Linked DNA regions of Homo sapiens: all the other regions are linked to region 3. Evidence: promoter capture Hi-C in 16 types of primary human blood cells and fetal thymus (Javierre and others, 2016). All regions are on one chromosome and are shown on one strand. Each heading gives the region's core, a stretch centred on a gene start or on the middle of the fragment in contact. The rest is flanking DNA. Distances are from core to core; before and after follow the strand shown. Region 1 overlaps ZNF217 (zinc finger protein 217). Region 2 holds the start of BCAS1 (brain enriched myelin associated protein 1). Region 3 holds the start of ZFP64 (ZFP64 zinc finger protein).

Region 1 (2,917 bases), core at 122-2,621, 1.4 Mb before region 3:
GGTTGCAGTGAGCCAAGATCGTGCCGCTGCACTCCAGCCTGGGCGACAGAGTGAGACTGTCTCAAAAACAACAACAACAAATAGAACCCATTGCATTTCTAGGTCAGTTTGGTTCTATGTATTACGCTTTTTTAAAGAAAGAATTTTCTAAACTGTATTCAGTTTTGATCTTAATCATTTAAAAAATGTTGTTTTCCTTAGGTCTTGGTGGATGTCAGTGCTTACTCCCCATGAAATTAAATTTTACTTCATCCTTTGAGAAGCGAATGGTGAAAGCTACTGAAATAAGCTGTGATTGTACTGTACATAAAACATATGAGGAATCTGCAAGGAACACTACAGTTGTGTAAAGTTGTTCTGTTAACTTTTGTACCAAATAGCAATACAAACTAGTTGGAACAGTTGGAACTTACATACATGGGGACTGGAAATCTCTATTTTGTCCCTGAATAATATTTTTCTTAGAATTGACCAAATAAGAAGTGGAATTTTTGCATACTTGAGCGCTGCTGAAAAGAAATCATTTGGGTTGGGTGGGGCGGGATGGGGGAAAAGTATATAATGCTTGCACCTCAGGTAAAAATCTGTAAATATCTAAGTTGTAAACCTGCTTGTTCAAATACTGTGTGTATTCCTTTTCTCTAATGCAGCTCATCACTTGGAGCAGTTTCTGCTATTGTGCTCTTTCATTTAAAATGTATGTTTTTTTTTTTTTAAACTGTCAATGATTTTGTATTATGTTGAATCCACCCAAATCTATTGTTGTCTTAAAATTGTTAATGGAAGTATTGACCCTCTATGATATGTGCTGCAGATATCGAGGTCAGCCATTCGGAAGCTGGCAGCATTTTATCGCAACTTTGAGCATCTCAGATGGGGAAGGCACCTTCTTCCTCGCCTCTCCAGATTGTCCTGGAACCTCCAGGATCCTTGACTGAGGGCGTTGGGATGGCTTGTAGGATTTTTAAGAGAGTGTGTCTACAGACAAGCATTTTCTCTGTAGAGCAGCCACACGTTGTATAAACATAAACTGTATGTGCAGTTATTTAAATTTGTTTCTGTCAAATTAATCATTTTTGTTGGACGATTCAGTGGCGGGGGGGTTTTGCCTAAATTAGTATATAAAAACAAAAATGCTAAATTATATCTGTGAATTGCAGGTATTGGGGAACAGTTTTAAGGGAAATTTTGGGGGGAACATTTTAGGTTTGTATTTGGTAGTCTTAATGTATCTGGCATTTGGGTGAACTGTGGACATACTAGAGTTGATTATAGACACATTGATTTTGAATAAGGAACTGCTGGCCGAGCCCGCTGGGAGTCTAGAAAGAGAAAATCTGTTTCTAGACCTCAGTTATTTTCCCATTTTTGGTTGTTTTGAAGCAGTAACATTTTTCTCAGTGCACATGCAATTTGGGTTTTAGAGAAGATGGCCACCAGCTGGCTTCCTAGATATTTTAAACTTTTGTTCTTTAATATGCTGTCCATGGCTGAGTTTATTAGTACATGGGCTTAGTGACCACAAAATATTTTATTAAGAAACTGTTTCAAAAATAAATTTGCACTGTTCATTTTTCTGGCCTCGCTGTTCTCCATAGAGCAAGGGTAATCCTAGAAAAAATTTTTTTTTTTTAAATTATGCAACGTAAGATGTCCTCCTTGATAGAAGTCTTAGCTCCTGTGTTACAAGGGAGAACTCATTTGAGATCAGTCTGTTGGCATTGCAATGAAGTGCTTTGTATCAGGAAAGTGTACACTATTGACCTTTTTTCCTGTTCACAAGCTGAGCCATATGTACATAATCTAGATTTTGTTTTCATAGTTTTGCACTTTTATAGCCTATTTTTGAAGATTAACACATTTGCAAGATGATTGACTCAATCTTTGCCTAATCCAATGAGTGTTACAGAGAGCTTGCTGTGACTAGAACCATAAATCTTAAAGGGGGTATGTGATAATAGAGGGCTGGAATTTAAACCTGTATTTAAAAAAAAGAATCACCAAATCTATTTGAAAACAAGTCGATTTGTATTATGCTGGAATTTTTTGGGCTTTCAGATTTCTCTTTTTAACCACATTTCTGAATGTATAAAAATACCAATTATTTTCCTACAGCCCTTTGTACTTCAAAATATGTTTTTGTGTCCATCAGTATTAACTATTGGTATACTACTGGTTTTATATTTTTTTTTCTTTGAGACAACAGTACATATAATAGAGGTACAATTCGTTGGATTTTTGTTTATGTATTTATTTCATTCCAGTTTGATTTATTTTAATTGTTGATACTTAAGTTGTCGAACAGTAGACATTACTTGTTTTATTTATGATATATTTCAGCTTAAAGTTATGTTATTATATGTGGAAGTGTAAATATAGATTTGGTGTTTTGCAATCTTGAGTTTTAGTGTTTATTGTGTTTCTGGTTTCTGATTTTGTTTTATTTAACTTTTTAGTTTTCTTTCTTTTTTTTTTTTTTGAGATGTGCTCCTGCTCTGTCACTCAGGCTGGAGTGCAGTGGTGCAATCACAGCTCACTGCAGCCTTGAACCCCTGGGCTCAACTGATCCTCCAGCTCTCGGCCTCCCGAGTATCGAGCCATCATGCCTGGCTTATAAACACAATTTTAAGGCCAGCACGTGGCTCACGCCTGTAATCCCAGCCCTTTGGAAGGCCAAGGCGGGTGGATCACTTGAAACCAAGAGTTTGAGACCAGCCTGGCCAACATGGCGAAACCCCGTCTTTACTAAAAATACAAAAATTAGCTGAGTGTGGTGGTGCACACCTGTGGCCCCAGCTACTCAAGAGGCTAAGGCATGAGAAATCACTTGAACCCGGGAGGCAAAGGTTGCAGTGAGCTGAGATTGCGCCAGTGCACTCCAGCCTGGGCAACAGAGCGAGACTCCATCTCAAAAACA
Region 2 (2,850 bases), core at 81-2,580, 1.9 Mb before region 3:
TTGCTCATAATTCCACAGCCGATCAGTAAGAATCAAGATCCGAGCCCTTGTCTGTCTCAACCCAGGGCCAGAGCTCAAGCTCCTGAGCCTCCAGGCTTGGGTCAGCACAGAGCGTGTGCATGGCAGCTGCTTAATAATTGGGTTTACTACATTCCAGATTGACATGTACAGTGCTGAGCTGGAATCGACTTTACAACCCTAATTACGGTGTGCCTGGTTGTGTATTCAGCATTTATTTAAATAGTATTTTTTTTCTTAAATGTTGATTTCTGAAAGAGGCCTTCCCCAGCTCTCTCTATTTCTCTCCCTTAGCTGCCTTGGCTTTTCTTTTATAATGAGAATCACACCCTGTAATTCTATGTTTATATTTACAGGATTCTATGTCCAATGACACTGAGTGCAAGAAGGGTAGAGACCCAGCATCTTTTACTCACCTCTTTAAACTCTGGCTTATATATATAGCCTGGTGCTTGACAAGTATTCATGATAGGGGTTAAGCTGAGTATACTGTTGAATAAAACCACAATAATTATTGGTCGCAATTCTCTTGAATGTCTTCTCCAGAGCACTAAGTAGTGTAACTTATCAAGTTTCCTTTCTTGCATTGGCTGTTAGGAAGCTCAAAGCCATATCTGCAAACCCTTCATAGCAAGTCTGTAAATCAACAAGAGCATTTATTTTTGATCCTGTTCTCATTTGATGTTCCAAATTTTGTTCTTCAATCTTCTTTTGTTACATGTTATTTCATGCTCTCATAATCTATTGTATATGTCCTTGTAAGACACTTTAAACAACATCCTTGCTTGAATTAAATAAATTGCATAGCCTGTCGAATTTCTGGCCTGCAAAGAAAAAGAATGCCCTTTCCAACATCATGGTATGTCTCCAGAGCAATAAACCACCCTCAGGTTACCTGATTTCTGGTGTCCAAACCCCTTTGGGAATAAGGTTTACATGACTAGGGGTAGTTGAGTGGATGAGAAGCTATTTCCTTCCAATTAGGTGGTTAGGTGGTGGTGGAGGTGGTGTTCTGAAGTCAGCAGACAGAACTACAAAATCTCACAGAACGTGTTTTCCCTGCTCTGACCATGACCTACGGTTACTGGGGAAGGAAACTGCTTCCCCAGGTCAACCCGGCAGCCTCAGTAGGTGAGGGGCACTGGGTAGAATACTTGGGGTGCCAGGGAGGCATTAATGCGAGAGGAGTCAGGTGCTCAGTTTTTATTGGAGTTGGGAGGGCAGCCCCACATCAGGAAGAGAACCTGTTTCTGCAGGATGGTCCGGGGAGAAGGGAGGACTCCACCCAGGCTTGTGTTTGCCCTGCTCTGTGTATTCAGCCAGCAGGCTCTGCACAAGGAAGCAAAGTGCAGGGAGCCAGGCTCCACCGACAGCCAGGCACTGGGCAGCACGCACTGGAGACCCAGGACCCTGTGCAGGAGCAGCTCCGGGTGACACGAGGGGACTGAAGATACTCCCACAGGGGCTCAGCAGGTAACTGCTTTCAGATCCTTTAGGCATGGCTGGAGGGTTTGCTGTTTGTGGTAGACGGTGTCATATAGAGGCCAGGGGTCAGACAGGGTCAAGTTTGATCCCAGCTCTGCCTTCTGTTCACTGTGTGGCCTTGGATATGTGTAAGCCTCAGTTCCACTATCTGTGAAATGGACCCAAAGATAGCACTCATCTCAAAGTTTTTAGTTTTACAAGGAGCAAATGACAATGTGGTCAGTGTTAGGCGCATAGCCACATAAATAACTCCTATTTGGTGGAACTATTGAGGGTCATTTCAAGCACAGGACATGGGGAGAAGTCACTGGATGGAGGGATAGGCTGTGTGATTTGGGGATCCGTCAGGGCAAGAATGCCCCATAGCCGAGTGGAATCTGAGCCTTCACCTCAGGCATTGCCTAAAGAAGTGGGAGGACAAGAAAAAGGACTTGTGGAGTGCCTTTTGTGAATCTTATTTAACGCTCAAGACCACCCTATGAGGCAGCTGCTGATTCAAATCCTGGCTTCAGGACCCCTGCTGTTTACATCTCCCTCTGAACCAGTTTCCTGCCTGGAAGAGTCATTGCGATTAGAATGCGGGTGCGCTGCAGCCACACCGCCAGATGCCAGCCCCAGCTCCACCCTGGGCTGGCTGGGTGCCCTGGAGCAGGTTCCCTCAGCCCTCTGGGCCTCAGTTTCCTCATCTGTAAAGTGAACCTAATAACAGTACTGAGATCAAAGGGCTGAGAGGACTCTACTGCCCGTAAATACCTGTGCACTTAGTAACTCTTAGCTGTGGTTCTTGTTTTCGCTGTTACCATCGTCTCCATTTTACAACTAGGAACATGAAGCTGGGTGAAGAGGGAGCTGCATCTGGTTCCAGGTCTCATGGAAAGGATGCTGTGGAACTGGAGTCCAGTCGGGCCTGGGATGAGGGTGCAGCCAGTGAGACTCTCACCTTGGGCACGAAATGTAAGGGATGCCAAAAAACTCAGTCATGGAGATAAACGGTATGTTAACACAACATTTTTAAAAGTCAGAATTAATGGCAAGACACCCGTGATGAACAAACTATGAACATGTTACAGAAAGATAAGATCAGGAACAGCGGTAATTTTGATTTTCACAAATTTCATGTTAAAATACTATTCATCTCCATGGCTGAGCTTTTTGGTGTCCCTTACATTGTTCCCCCGGAGTCCAGGGCCTGATCCGCCTCAGCCTCCTGGGGATCCTGAGCTGATCACAGCAGCTTCAGGCCCTGGGTGTATATACTCAGGGTATGTAGAGGGTGCTTCCTCCTAAATAAAGACAACAGACGGGGCGGGGCATGCTAAAGTAGTTTCTCATTTAAGTGAGGGTGGG
Region 3 (2,704 bases), core at 128-2,627:
ACTCGAGATACATAATATGTTCCATCTAACACCTTTTAAGGACAAAGCAGGCCAGGCATGGTGGCTTACACCTGTAACCCCAGCACTTTGGGAGGCTGATGGAGGATCGCTTGAGGCCAGGAATTCGAGACCAGCCTGGGCAACATCTCTACAAAAATAAAAATTAAAAAGTGAGCCAGGGTGGTGGCCCACGCCTGTAGGGGGGATTGCTTGAGCCCAGGAGTTGGAGGCTGCAATGAGCTAGGATCCGACCACTCTTCCAGCCTGAGAGACAGAGAAAGACCCCCTCTCTAAAAAAAGAAAGGGAGAAAGAGAGAGAGGCAGAGAGAGAGAAAGAAAGAAAAGAAAAGAAAAGAAAAGAAAAGAAAAGAAAAGAAAAGAAAAGAAAAGAAAAGAAAAGAAAAAGAAAAAGAAAAAAACAGGAAGGAGACAGGGAGTGGTTGGGGGAGGAGGAGGGGGCTGCAATATTAGAATGATTAGATTAGGCCAAGCATGGCCTCCCTGAGTGTGAATTTGAATGCTGACCTTCAGAAGCAGGACAGACTCTATGGGCAAATCCCTCGAGGCTGGGAGAGGTCTGAGGCTTGGGAGGGTCGGCAGAGAGACAATAGGGCTGACGCAGGAGCCCGGGGGAGACAGTAGTAGTAAGACATGAGGGACAGAGCAGAGAGGTCACTGTCCTCAGAGTGTGGACGCCGACCAACACTAGGGGCATCACCTGGGAACTTAGAAATGCTCGTTCTCACGCCTCGCCCCAGACCTACTGAAGCAGAAACGCTAGGGTGGGCCCAACAGCGTGTGTTCTAACAAGCCTTTCAGGCGACTGCGATGCACGATAAAGTTGGCAGCTCCTGGAGCAGGGGTCCCTCCGCGCTACGACCCCACCTCTTCGCGGTCCTCTCAGTCTCCCTAGCGGGGCAAGGGACCCGCCCAGCGCTTTGCTGATTTGCCCAGCGCTCACGCCCAACCTGGGTTTCTCCGGAGCTCGCCGCGCCCCGCGCACCCACCCCGCAACGGCAGCCGCACGTGGGTCTCCCCGCAAACCACCCAGGCGTCCCGGGAGCAGCGCTGCTGCACGGCCGCGCTGGGGGCCCAACGCCTGGGGTTGCAGGTGCAAAAGGCGCCCCGAGCCGGGGAGGCCAATCGCGTCCGCGGAGAACGCAGAGTGCGGGCAGGGGCGCATCCCTCGCCACCCGCGGTCGCCCAGCACGCCGGGACGCGCGTGGCCATCCAGCTCCCCGGGGGCGTTGGGGGGCTCCGCGGGCCTGGGCCTCGGGATTCGCCCGCCGCTTCCCCGGGGAGCCGCTGCTGCAAAGCCAGGTTGGGGCGCCGGGCCCGGCCAGCGCCCTCTAGGCAGCGGAAGTGCAGCTTGCTTTACATCCGTCCTCCCCGCCTCGCAGAGTTGGGAGAAGGCAGGGTGGGGGGTGTGGAAAAATAAAAGGAAAAGTCCTTGCACCATGTAGATCAGCGTCCCCCACTTTGGCATCCCGGCCGGCCGGGGACCTCCCAGTCTGCGGCCATGAACGCGAGCAGCGAGGGCGAGAGCTTCGCGGGCTCGGTGCAAAGTAAGTGCTTTTCCGGGAGCAGTGCGCGCTCCGGGGCCCAGTGCGCGCTCCGGGGCCCGGGCCCAAGCACGTCTGCGACGCAGCCAGCAGGCCCGGGGCCCCGAAATCGGGGTGACGGCTCGGAGCCGCGTCTCGGGGACCGCGGCGGGCGCGCTGTGCAGGGGGCGCCGGAGTGGGCTTGGGGTGGGGGCGCACCCGACCTGGCGCAAGACCGGGGGCGCTCTCCAGCCTTGCGAGACCCCTTGGAAGGGAACAGTGGGGGAGGGCACGCCGTTCAGACAATCGCCACCCCCTAAGGGCATTCCCGCCCCATCAGGCGGAGTTTGGGGCGGGCAGGAGAAAGGGAGGAATCTAGGGTAAACGGGGCAACACTGATGGGAAAACTTCTGCCTCAGTGGCTCAAAATTAGAGCCTGGAGATTGGGGGAATCACCAGGTCTCACGAGGTCCTGCCGGCTCATTGCAAAGCCTTTTCCTCATTAAGGGTGGAGATCTGAATGGAAAACGGGGCCGTGGTCGCTTTATTTGGGTTTGGGGTTCAGTTTTTATTTAACCGAGGAGGACATCAGCGTTTTTCAAGTCCCTGGTTTCTCCCGGTGCATTGTTTCCCAAAGTGTGGTCCAGAGACTGAGTGCAACCAGCCACCTGGGAGCGAGAGCGTGTATTTTAAAACAGCTTTCTGGGCCCCACCCATTCAATCTCGGGGGTGGGGCTGGGGATCCGCTGTCCTTCGTAGCTGCCTGGGCAACTCTGAAGCACATGAAGTTTGAGAACCCATCTACCAGGGGTTTGCAGAAAATCTGGCACATAGTAAGCTCCCAGCTTGTTAGCTGCTACTGTTAACAGTTTGGGAGACACTGGGTCCCAAACTTGGCGGTGTATTCCTTGCATTACTGTGAAAAGCACAGATTTTCCTAAACACCATCCTCCCCACCCCACCCTGTTATGACTCAGTATCTCCTAGGTGGGGCTCAGATATGTCCATGTTTAAATAGTGTACCTCAGTAAGAACCCAGCAGGTAACATGCTGGGGGACTGGCGGGGAGGGGGGACTGTGCTGGTACGAGCACCATCCCATTTAATTCTCATAACAAGCCCGTGTTTTTTCTTGGAGAAATTAAAAACAAACAAAAACCATGG

Evidence for each region. The method cuts DNA at HindIII sites, captures the fragments that hold promoters and counts their contacts. A CHiCAGO score of 5 or more calls a contact.
Region 1: a fragment that was not itself captured here is called in contact with the fragment with the promoter of ZFP64 in region 3 in 1 of 17 cell types (total CD4 T cells); the score reaches 6.4 in total CD4 T cells.
Region 2: a contact is called between the fragment with the promoter of BCAS1 here and the fragment with the promoter of ZFP64 in region 3, in 1 of 17 cell types (total CD8 T cells). The highest score is 5.5, in total CD8 T cells.

The regions. Positions count from the first base shown.
Region 1 is chr20:53,566,549-53,569,465 of GRCh38, reverse strand. ZNF217 (zinc finger protein 217) reads left to right here. Exons shown (of 6, transcript NM_006526.3): 6 at 202-2,395. All of the region lies in intron 3 of ZNF217-AS1 (ZNF217 antisense RNA 1), which reads right to left. Among named protein-coding and RNA genes, the nearest start is that of ZNF217-AS1, 15 kb to the right of the region's middle. The HindIII fragment of the contact is 4,272 bases long and covers 1-2,917 here.
Region 2 is chr20:54,069,074-54,071,923 of GRCh38, reverse strand. It overlaps BCAS1 (brain enriched myelin associated protein 1), which reads left to right and starts at 1,330. Exons shown (of 13, transcript NM_001366298.2): 1 at 1,330-1,491. RefSeq lists an enhancer at 1,737-2,611. The HindIII fragment of the contact is 13,812 bases long and covers 1-2,850 here.
Region 3 is chr20:52,190,452-52,193,155 of GRCh38, reverse strand. It overlaps ZFP64 (ZFP64 zinc finger protein), which reads left to right and starts at 1,377. Exons shown (of 6, transcript NM_018197.3): 1 at 1,377-1,565. The coding sequence starts at 1,520. RefSeq lists enhancers at 496-625, 1,666-2,522 and silencers at 1,036-1,305, 1,666-1,905. The HindIII fragment of the contact is 28,170 bases long and covers 1-2,704 here.